2 separate regions of the Homo sapiens genome follow, and region 1 is linked to region 2. Evidence: promoter capture Hi-C in human tissues and cell types (Jung and others, 2019). All regions are on one chromosome and are shown on one strand. Each heading gives the region's core, a stretch centred on a gene start or on the middle of the fragment in contact. The rest is flanking DNA. Distances are from core to core; before and after follow the strand shown. Region 1 overlaps CACNA1A (calcium voltage-gated channel subunit alpha1 A). Region 2 holds the start of ZSWIM4 (zinc finger SWIM-type containing 4).

What was found. The method cuts DNA at HindIII sites, captures the fragments that hold promoters and counts their contacts. A contact is called where the count stands out against the background at its distance.
Region 1: a fragment that was not itself captured here is called in contact with the fragment with the promoter of ZSWIM4 in region 2 in 1 of the 25 tissues and cell types used here (lymphoblastoid cells).

What each region holds. Positions count from the first base shown.
Region 1 is chr19:13,347,731-13,351,323 of GRCh38, forward strand. All of the region lies in intron 6 of CACNA1A (calcium voltage-gated channel subunit alpha1 A), which reads right to left. Among named protein-coding and RNA genes, the nearest start is that of CACNA1A, 160 kb to the right of the region's middle. The HindIII fragment of the contact is 8,117 bases long and covers 1-3,593 here.
Region 2 is chr19:13,793,200-13,796,692 of GRCh38, forward strand. ZSWIM4 (zinc finger SWIM-type containing 4) reads left to right here and starts at 2,244. Exons shown (of 14, transcript NM_001367834.3): 1 at 2,244-2,602. The coding sequence starts at 2,450. RefSeq lists silencers at 1,878-2,367, 2,388-2,597 and an enhancer at 2,838-2,907. The HindIII fragment of the contact is 5,751 bases long and covers 1-3,493 here.

The DNA.
Region 1 (3,593 bases), core at 511-3,010, 450 kb before region 2:
AGAGTGTCTGCATACAGTAGGCATTCAATGATGGTTGTTGAATGAACCAGTGATTTATAGTCCAAAGTCTAATGCTTTGATTTTGGTCAAGACAAACATCTATGAATGAAAAAGGGCATGGGTCAAAGGTGATTCCAAACATTAGCAACCACTGGCCAGGGGACACGCATTTATTTATTTATTTATTTTTAATTATTAGGTTTTTTTTGAGACAGGGTCTGGTTCTGTCACCCAGGCTGGAGTGCAGGGGTGTAATCACAGCTCGGTGCAGCTTCAAACCCTTGGGCTCAGGCAATCCTCCTTCCTCAGCCTCCCGAGTAGCTGGGACTACAGGTACACACCACCATGCCCAGCTAATTAATTATTTTTCTTTTTTAAAGATGGGGTCTTGCTTTTTGACCAGGCTGGTTTTGAACTCCCGGTCTCAAGCAATCTTCCTGCCTCAGCTTCTCAAAGGGCTGGGATTCCAGGCGTGAGCCACCACGCCTGGCCAGGGACATGCATTTATGATCACAAATTAAACGCAGTTTTTCTGCTTTTCTAATTGACATTCACCAAAGGAGAGAAATAGAGAAGAAGAGAAACTCACAGAGAAAAGCACAAAGAAGGGTGAGGAGAAGGGAGAGAAGGAGAAGGAGGTGGAGAAAGAGAAGGAAGAGAGAGAGAGAACACAAGAATAAAAGAGACAAAGGCTGGGCATGGTGGCTCATGCCTGTAATACCAGCACTTTGGGAGGCCAAGGCAGGCAGATCACTTGAGGTCAGGAGCTCGAGACCAGCCCGGCCAACATGTTGAAACCCAGTCTCTGTTAAAAATACAAAAAATTGGCAGGCACAGTGGCTCACGCCTGTAATCCCGGCACTTTGGGAGGCCAAGGCGGGCGAATCATGAGCTCAGGAGATCGAGACCATCCTGGCCAACATGGTGAAACCCCGTCTTTACTAAAATACAAAAAATTAGCTGGGCGTGTTGGTGCATGCCTGTAGTCCCAGCTACTCAGGAGGCTGAGGCAGGGGAATCACTTGAACCTGGGAGTCAGAGGCTGCAGTGAGCCGAGATCACGCCACTGTACTCCAGCCTGGCGACAGAGCAAGACTCCATCTCAAAACAAAACAAAACCCCCCAAAATTAGCTGGGTGTGGTGGCACGCACCTGTAATCCCAGCTACTTGGGAGGTTGAGGCACAAGAATCGCTTGAACCCAGGAGATGGAGGTTGTAGTGAGCCGAGATTGCGCCACTGCACTCTAGCCTGGGTGACAGAGTGAGACGCTGTCTCAAAAAAAAAAAAAAAAAAAAAGAGAGACAAAGAGAGAGAGGGAAAAAGAAAGAGTCAGAGAGAGACGGATGAAGGGTGATGAATTGTGTCCAGAGCTGTGTGTGAACCCTGGCTTTGTCACTCTTGGCTAGGGGACCTTGGCAGGTCACGTCACCCTGTGGGCCTCCGTTTCCTCATCTGGAAGATGGGGTTAAAAATATCTTTCCTCACAGGGCTGTTTTACGGATCAAGACACAATGTAAAGCTGATGCCAGGCACACAGAAGCCCTCGGCTAAAGGCAGCCCCAAATTAACTCAAGACACCCTGGTCCTGCCAGGTCCCCAGCCCCTCCACATCCCCTCCTTGGGGGCAACCAAGAGAGGGTAGGTCCTGTACCCCATGAAGTGACCCCAATTTGCCTTGGCCCAGCTGGCAAAGAGGGGGTCAGGGACCTTCCCCTGTGAGAGTGGAGACAATTTCTGGCTTTTCTGAGCCACATGGGGCACATAGGGTGAGGGGGTCCCTGTGAAATGAGGCCACCTGTCACTAGAACAACACAGAGCCACCAGCTCTTGTCTCCAGCAAACAGTTTTGTTGCAGTACTCATGGGGTTCCCCATTCTATCCCCTTGAGCTCAGAGAAGCAGCCCTCAATCCTATTTGCTGTGGGAGGCTATAAATGGCAGAATCTGAGGATGTTGACACTGAGTGAGACAGAGCTGAATTCTGACTCTCAATCGCTGTGCACAGCTCTGGGACTCAGTTTCTTCATCTGTAAAATGGGGATATTAAAGGCCCTAGCTCAGAGAGTTTTATATTTTTACCATCAAGGAATCCCAGGCTGATGCCTAGGGAAGTAGCCAAAACAGGGTGGCACAGAGGAAGTGGCTGATCACCCATCTTGATTCCACAAGGCTACCCAGAGCCTTCTCTGGCCCAGGAAGGTCCAGGGAAGAGGCCCGTCTAGTGGGCATGGGAGCCATGTGGATACCTTGGAGCTTCCAGGTCAAGAACAGAGATGGGCTATGTTGATGGAGGTTTGTTTTGTAGCAGTTAGAAGTGAGTTGGACCTCACTTTTGGCACAGAATTTCCAGTAAACCTGCATTTGTAGTCCTTGGGTATGGACAGAAACTCACGCCATCCCAAAGCTCTTAGGGGGTAGGTTCATCTTGAGGCCCAGCCAGTACCCCAATCCTCCTTCCTCTGAGAGGCCTGGCCTCCTAGAGCAGAGCCTCTCAACCTCAGTACTACTGACATTTTGGGCTGGGTAACTGGTTGTGATGGGGGCTGAGCCAGACACGGATGGTGAGAACTCCAGTTACCTGCTAAACTATCACCTCTTCTGAGGGGTTTTCTAGCCACAGTGACTGCGGAAGGCACTGGCAAGATTCTCTCAGTTTCACCTTGGGGAGGAAACACTTAGGGGTCTGTGGACAGAATTCAAGGAGTTCGTGAATTTAGATAGAAAATAATTACCCCTTTACTTCCTCTTACTTTCACTGGAAGTGGAACATTTTCTTCCATGATGATTGGAGGTGGCAAACCGCAGAATCAGTGACCCCCATTACCAACAGAAATCACATATAGTTCACAGATATCATGCAAAGTCTTTTAAGCTTAATACTCCCATGAAATCCCAAGACTTATCCAACCCATCGCTGGGACTTGTTGTTGATGTGTTATGAAGAATCACATCTCTTAAACGACATCACAACTCCTTAAAAAAAAATTCTGGGCTGGTCACAGTGGCTCATGCCTATAATCCCAGTGACTCTGGAGGCTGGGGTGGGAGGATCACTAGAGGCCAGTAGCTCGAGGACAGCGTGGGCAATGTGTGAGAACATGTCTCTACCAAAAAAATACAATTAGCTGGGCATGATGGTATGTGCTTACAGCCCTAGCTATTCAGGAGGTTGAGGTGGGAGGATCGCTTGAGACCAGGAGTTTGAGCTGCAGTGAGCTATGATTGCATCATCGCACTCCAGCTTAGAAGACAGAGCAAAACCCCAAAAAACTGGGATTAGGAGTTTTTGGGAAGAACGCTATATAGGCATAAAATCAAGGGTTACATAATATCCACATCCCTGGGGGATACTAATCTTCATCATTTGGTTAAAGTGGTATCTATCTGTTCCTCCGCTATAAAACTTCTATTTTCCCCTTTACCTACTCTATTCTTCGGAAATGAGTCACTAAATCCAGCCCACTCTCAAAGTAGGGGAGATTAGTCTCCACCTCCTGGGGCAGTGGGGAGTGAAGTTTACATACTTTAAATGGAATTCTTTTGTAAGAAAGATTTGCCTGTTTTTCATTTATCTTGTGTATTTAATAATAAA
Region 2 (3,493 bases), core at 994-3,493:
TGGGATTCCAGGCGTGAACCACCGCGCCTGGCCAAAACATTCTTTTTTTTTTTTTTTTGGAGTCTCACTCTGTCCCCCAGGCTGGAGTGCAGTGGCGCAATCTTGGCTCACTGCAACCTCTGCCTCCTGGGTTCCCACCATTCTCCTGCCCTAGCCTCCCTAGTAGCTGGGACTATAGGCGCCTGCCACCATGCCCGGCTAATTTTTTGTATTTTTAGTAGAGAAGGGGTTTCACTGTGTTAGCCAGGATGGAAAACATTCTTAATGAAATATTTTAGGCCGGGCGTGGTGGCTCACGCCTGGAATCCCAGCACTTTGGGAGGCCAAGGCAGGCAGATCATAAGGTCAGGAGTTTGAGACCAGCCTGCCAATATGGTGAAACCCCGTCTCTACTAAAAATGCAAAAGTTAGTCAGGCGTGGCGGTGGGTGCCTGTAGCCCCAGCTACTTGGGAGGCTGAGGCAGAATAATCACGTGAACCTGGGAGGCAGAGGTTGCAGTGAGCTGAGATCACTCCATCTCAAAAAAAAAAAAAGAAATATTTTTCCTTGTTCCCTTCCTGCTATGTCTCCAAAATCCACTCTGTATTTTACCTTTCCAGCACAACCTAATTTCAGCCAGTCCCATTTCAAGGGCTCAGAGACCACTTGTGGCCATTGGTGACCATACTGGACAGTGCAGGTCTGCAGGGGAGTTTAACTAATTGAGGGGGTGGCAGGGAGAGTGGGTGAAGACTGGCCAGAGGGTGCAGCTGTGAGACTCGAAGTTTCTCCAAGAAAAAGCTAGGGCTTCCATATGGATGAGTGGATAATCACTGTTTTTTTTTTTTTTCTGCTGTGCCTATCATTTAACTGAATGGAGGCAAAGCATGTGTTGGTTGGTACATTCAACAAGTTCTAGGTTAAGCGCCTACCTTCCAGGTGCTGCCGGTACAGTAAAGCACAGATGGGACAAACTCCTGCCTCCTGAGGCTCACAGTGGAGAGGGAGAGATTGAAATTAAGCAACTACCAAAGGTGGATCACTTGAGGTCAGGAGTTCAAGACCAGCCTGGCCAACATGGCAAAACTCCGTCTCTACCAAAAATACAAAAATTAGCCGGGCGTGGTGGTGGGCGCCTATAATTTCAGCTATTCGGGAGGCTGAGGCAGGAGAATCACTTGACCCCGGGAGGCGCAGGTTGCAGTGAGCCGAGATCGCACCACTGCACCCCAGCCTGGACGACAAGAGTGAAACTCCGTAAAAAAAAAAAAAAAAAAAAAAAAAAAAACCGCCGAAACAGATAAATAAATGGTAATGGTGAGAAGTATGAGGAAGGAAAAATGCAGGGTCCTCTGAGGACATTGGCAAGGAGCCGGGACGGGAACGGGTGATGGAAGCCATGGCCAGCTTCCAGGCCAGAGACGGTGGCCTACACAAGCTGAGTCAGAAAAAATGCTCAGAGGTGCTGGGGTTTGATTAAGTGTTAGGGTGAACCTCATGGAATTGCCATTTTAACAGGCCAAAAATGGTAAAAAAAAATTAGCAATTTCATATGACCCAAGATAGTATCTAGGGCATGGAAAGGAGGGGCGGGGTACTATACTAGTTTTGAGGCTCAAGGGATGACCTATGAACCCCCTAACCGAGCTTTGTTTCTGGAGAGGGGGTCCGCGGCCCGCATGAGCTCCCTCAGTGAGCCTGCGACCCCTCCGCCCCCACAAGAACCAAAACTTGACCCGGTGCCCAGAGAGGTTGAGTGAGTTTCTCGGGTCGCACAGCTGGGAGGGACGAGGGGCTGAGCCACTGCCAAGGGATCCCGCTGCTCTGTCTCGCTCACCGGCCGGGCTATGTTGATTGTCCCCTCGCGGCGCCCGGAAGCGACCCTCAGTAAACAAAGCCGTGTGTGGGCGCAGCCCCAGAAGCCTGGGGCGCGCAGTCCAGCCCAAGAGAGGCGGGGGAGGAATGTTGTGAATGAACCCCGGGCCCGCCCCGAAACTCCGCATAAGGCCTGGGCCGCGGGGGTCCTCCCACTCTGATTGGCCTCTGGCGCCCCGTGATTGACAGCGCCCCTCGCTGTGCGCTCTGGTTGGGTAAACAAGAAAAGACTGGCATCGCAGTCATCGAGTGAGCAGCGAGGCTTGGACACGGGTCTGGCGGCGCAGCCAATGGCGGGGGAGGGCCGAGGAGGCCGAGGGGGGGCCAATAGGGACAGGCGGTGGGGGCGGGACGACGGCGGAGCTAAAGCGGCGGCTGAAGCAGCTTCATTGTTGTGAAGAGTCTTAAAGGGGCCGCATCACCCTGCCGGCCCGGCGCGGGTCGGGGGTGGGTGCGGTAGGGGTCCCGGGGCGGCCGAGCGCAGAGGACGGACGGGAAGGAGGGCAGGGGGCGCGGGAGCCGGCGAAGCGGAGCGGGCATCGGACCGAGCCCCCCAAAGAGGCCCCGCCCCGGCCCTGGCCCCGGCCGGGCCGGATGGAACCCCCCGCGGCCAAGCGGAGCCGGGGCTGCCCCGCGGGACCCGAGGAGCGCGATGCCGGGGCCGGGGCCGCGCGTGGCCGGGGCCGGCCCGAGGCGCTGCTGGACCTCAGCGCCAAGCGGGTAGCCGAGAGCTGGGCCTTCGAGCAGGTGACCGCGGGGGAAGGGGGCGGGGGCAGGGACGCACCCCCAGCACCTTCCCCACCTGTCTTCTCCTCCCCCACAATCCCCAGACTCCAGAGCTAACCCAATCAGAGACACCCCCTGAGATTCCACCCCCAGGACCCTTAACCCTGCCTGGAAACACCCCCTCATCCTCCTGTTTCTGTCCTTCAAACCCAGTAACCCACCCCCATCCCTTCTCTGCCATCTCTGCCCCTCAGCGCCCCAGATCCCAAATCAGGACACTTCCTTCTTCTCCTACCAACCCCAGATCTCTGAGATCTGGCCCCCATGGCCCGCCTACAACCCTGGGCACCCCTCTTTTCCCGCCTTATCCCCCAACGGTACCCCTCTTTTCCCACCTTATCCCCCAACGGTACCCCTCTTTTCCCACCTTATCCCCCAACGGTACCCCTCTTTTCCTACCGCATCTTTATTCGCCAATCAGGGCACCCCATTCAGTCTTCAATCCTCTCTTCGGCCCCCCGCTTGGGGACACCCTGTCTCCCTCCATCGTAGCCTCTAGAGACTCACACTACCCCATTCCTGCTCTCCAGATCCCTACCGTACACCCCAAGTAAATAACTCCCCCATCTCTCCAGATTCCAGCTCAAGACACCCCTTTTTTCCCCATTCATTCCTGCCCTCGAGCCTCCAGATTCCACCTGTTCCTTGGGGACCCCTCTCTACTCCTCCAGATTCCTCTTTCGGGGCTGCCCGTCTTCTCCTGGCTTGCCGCAGGGATTACTGAAATGCCAGGGTCCCTCCTCCTCCCCACCTCATCCCCCTGACCTATCCTATCTCTTCCCATAGGAAAACAGCAGGGGCGGAGCCTGGGTGGTGGTCCCTGGACAGGTGCACCTAGAAGCTCTCTTCTGT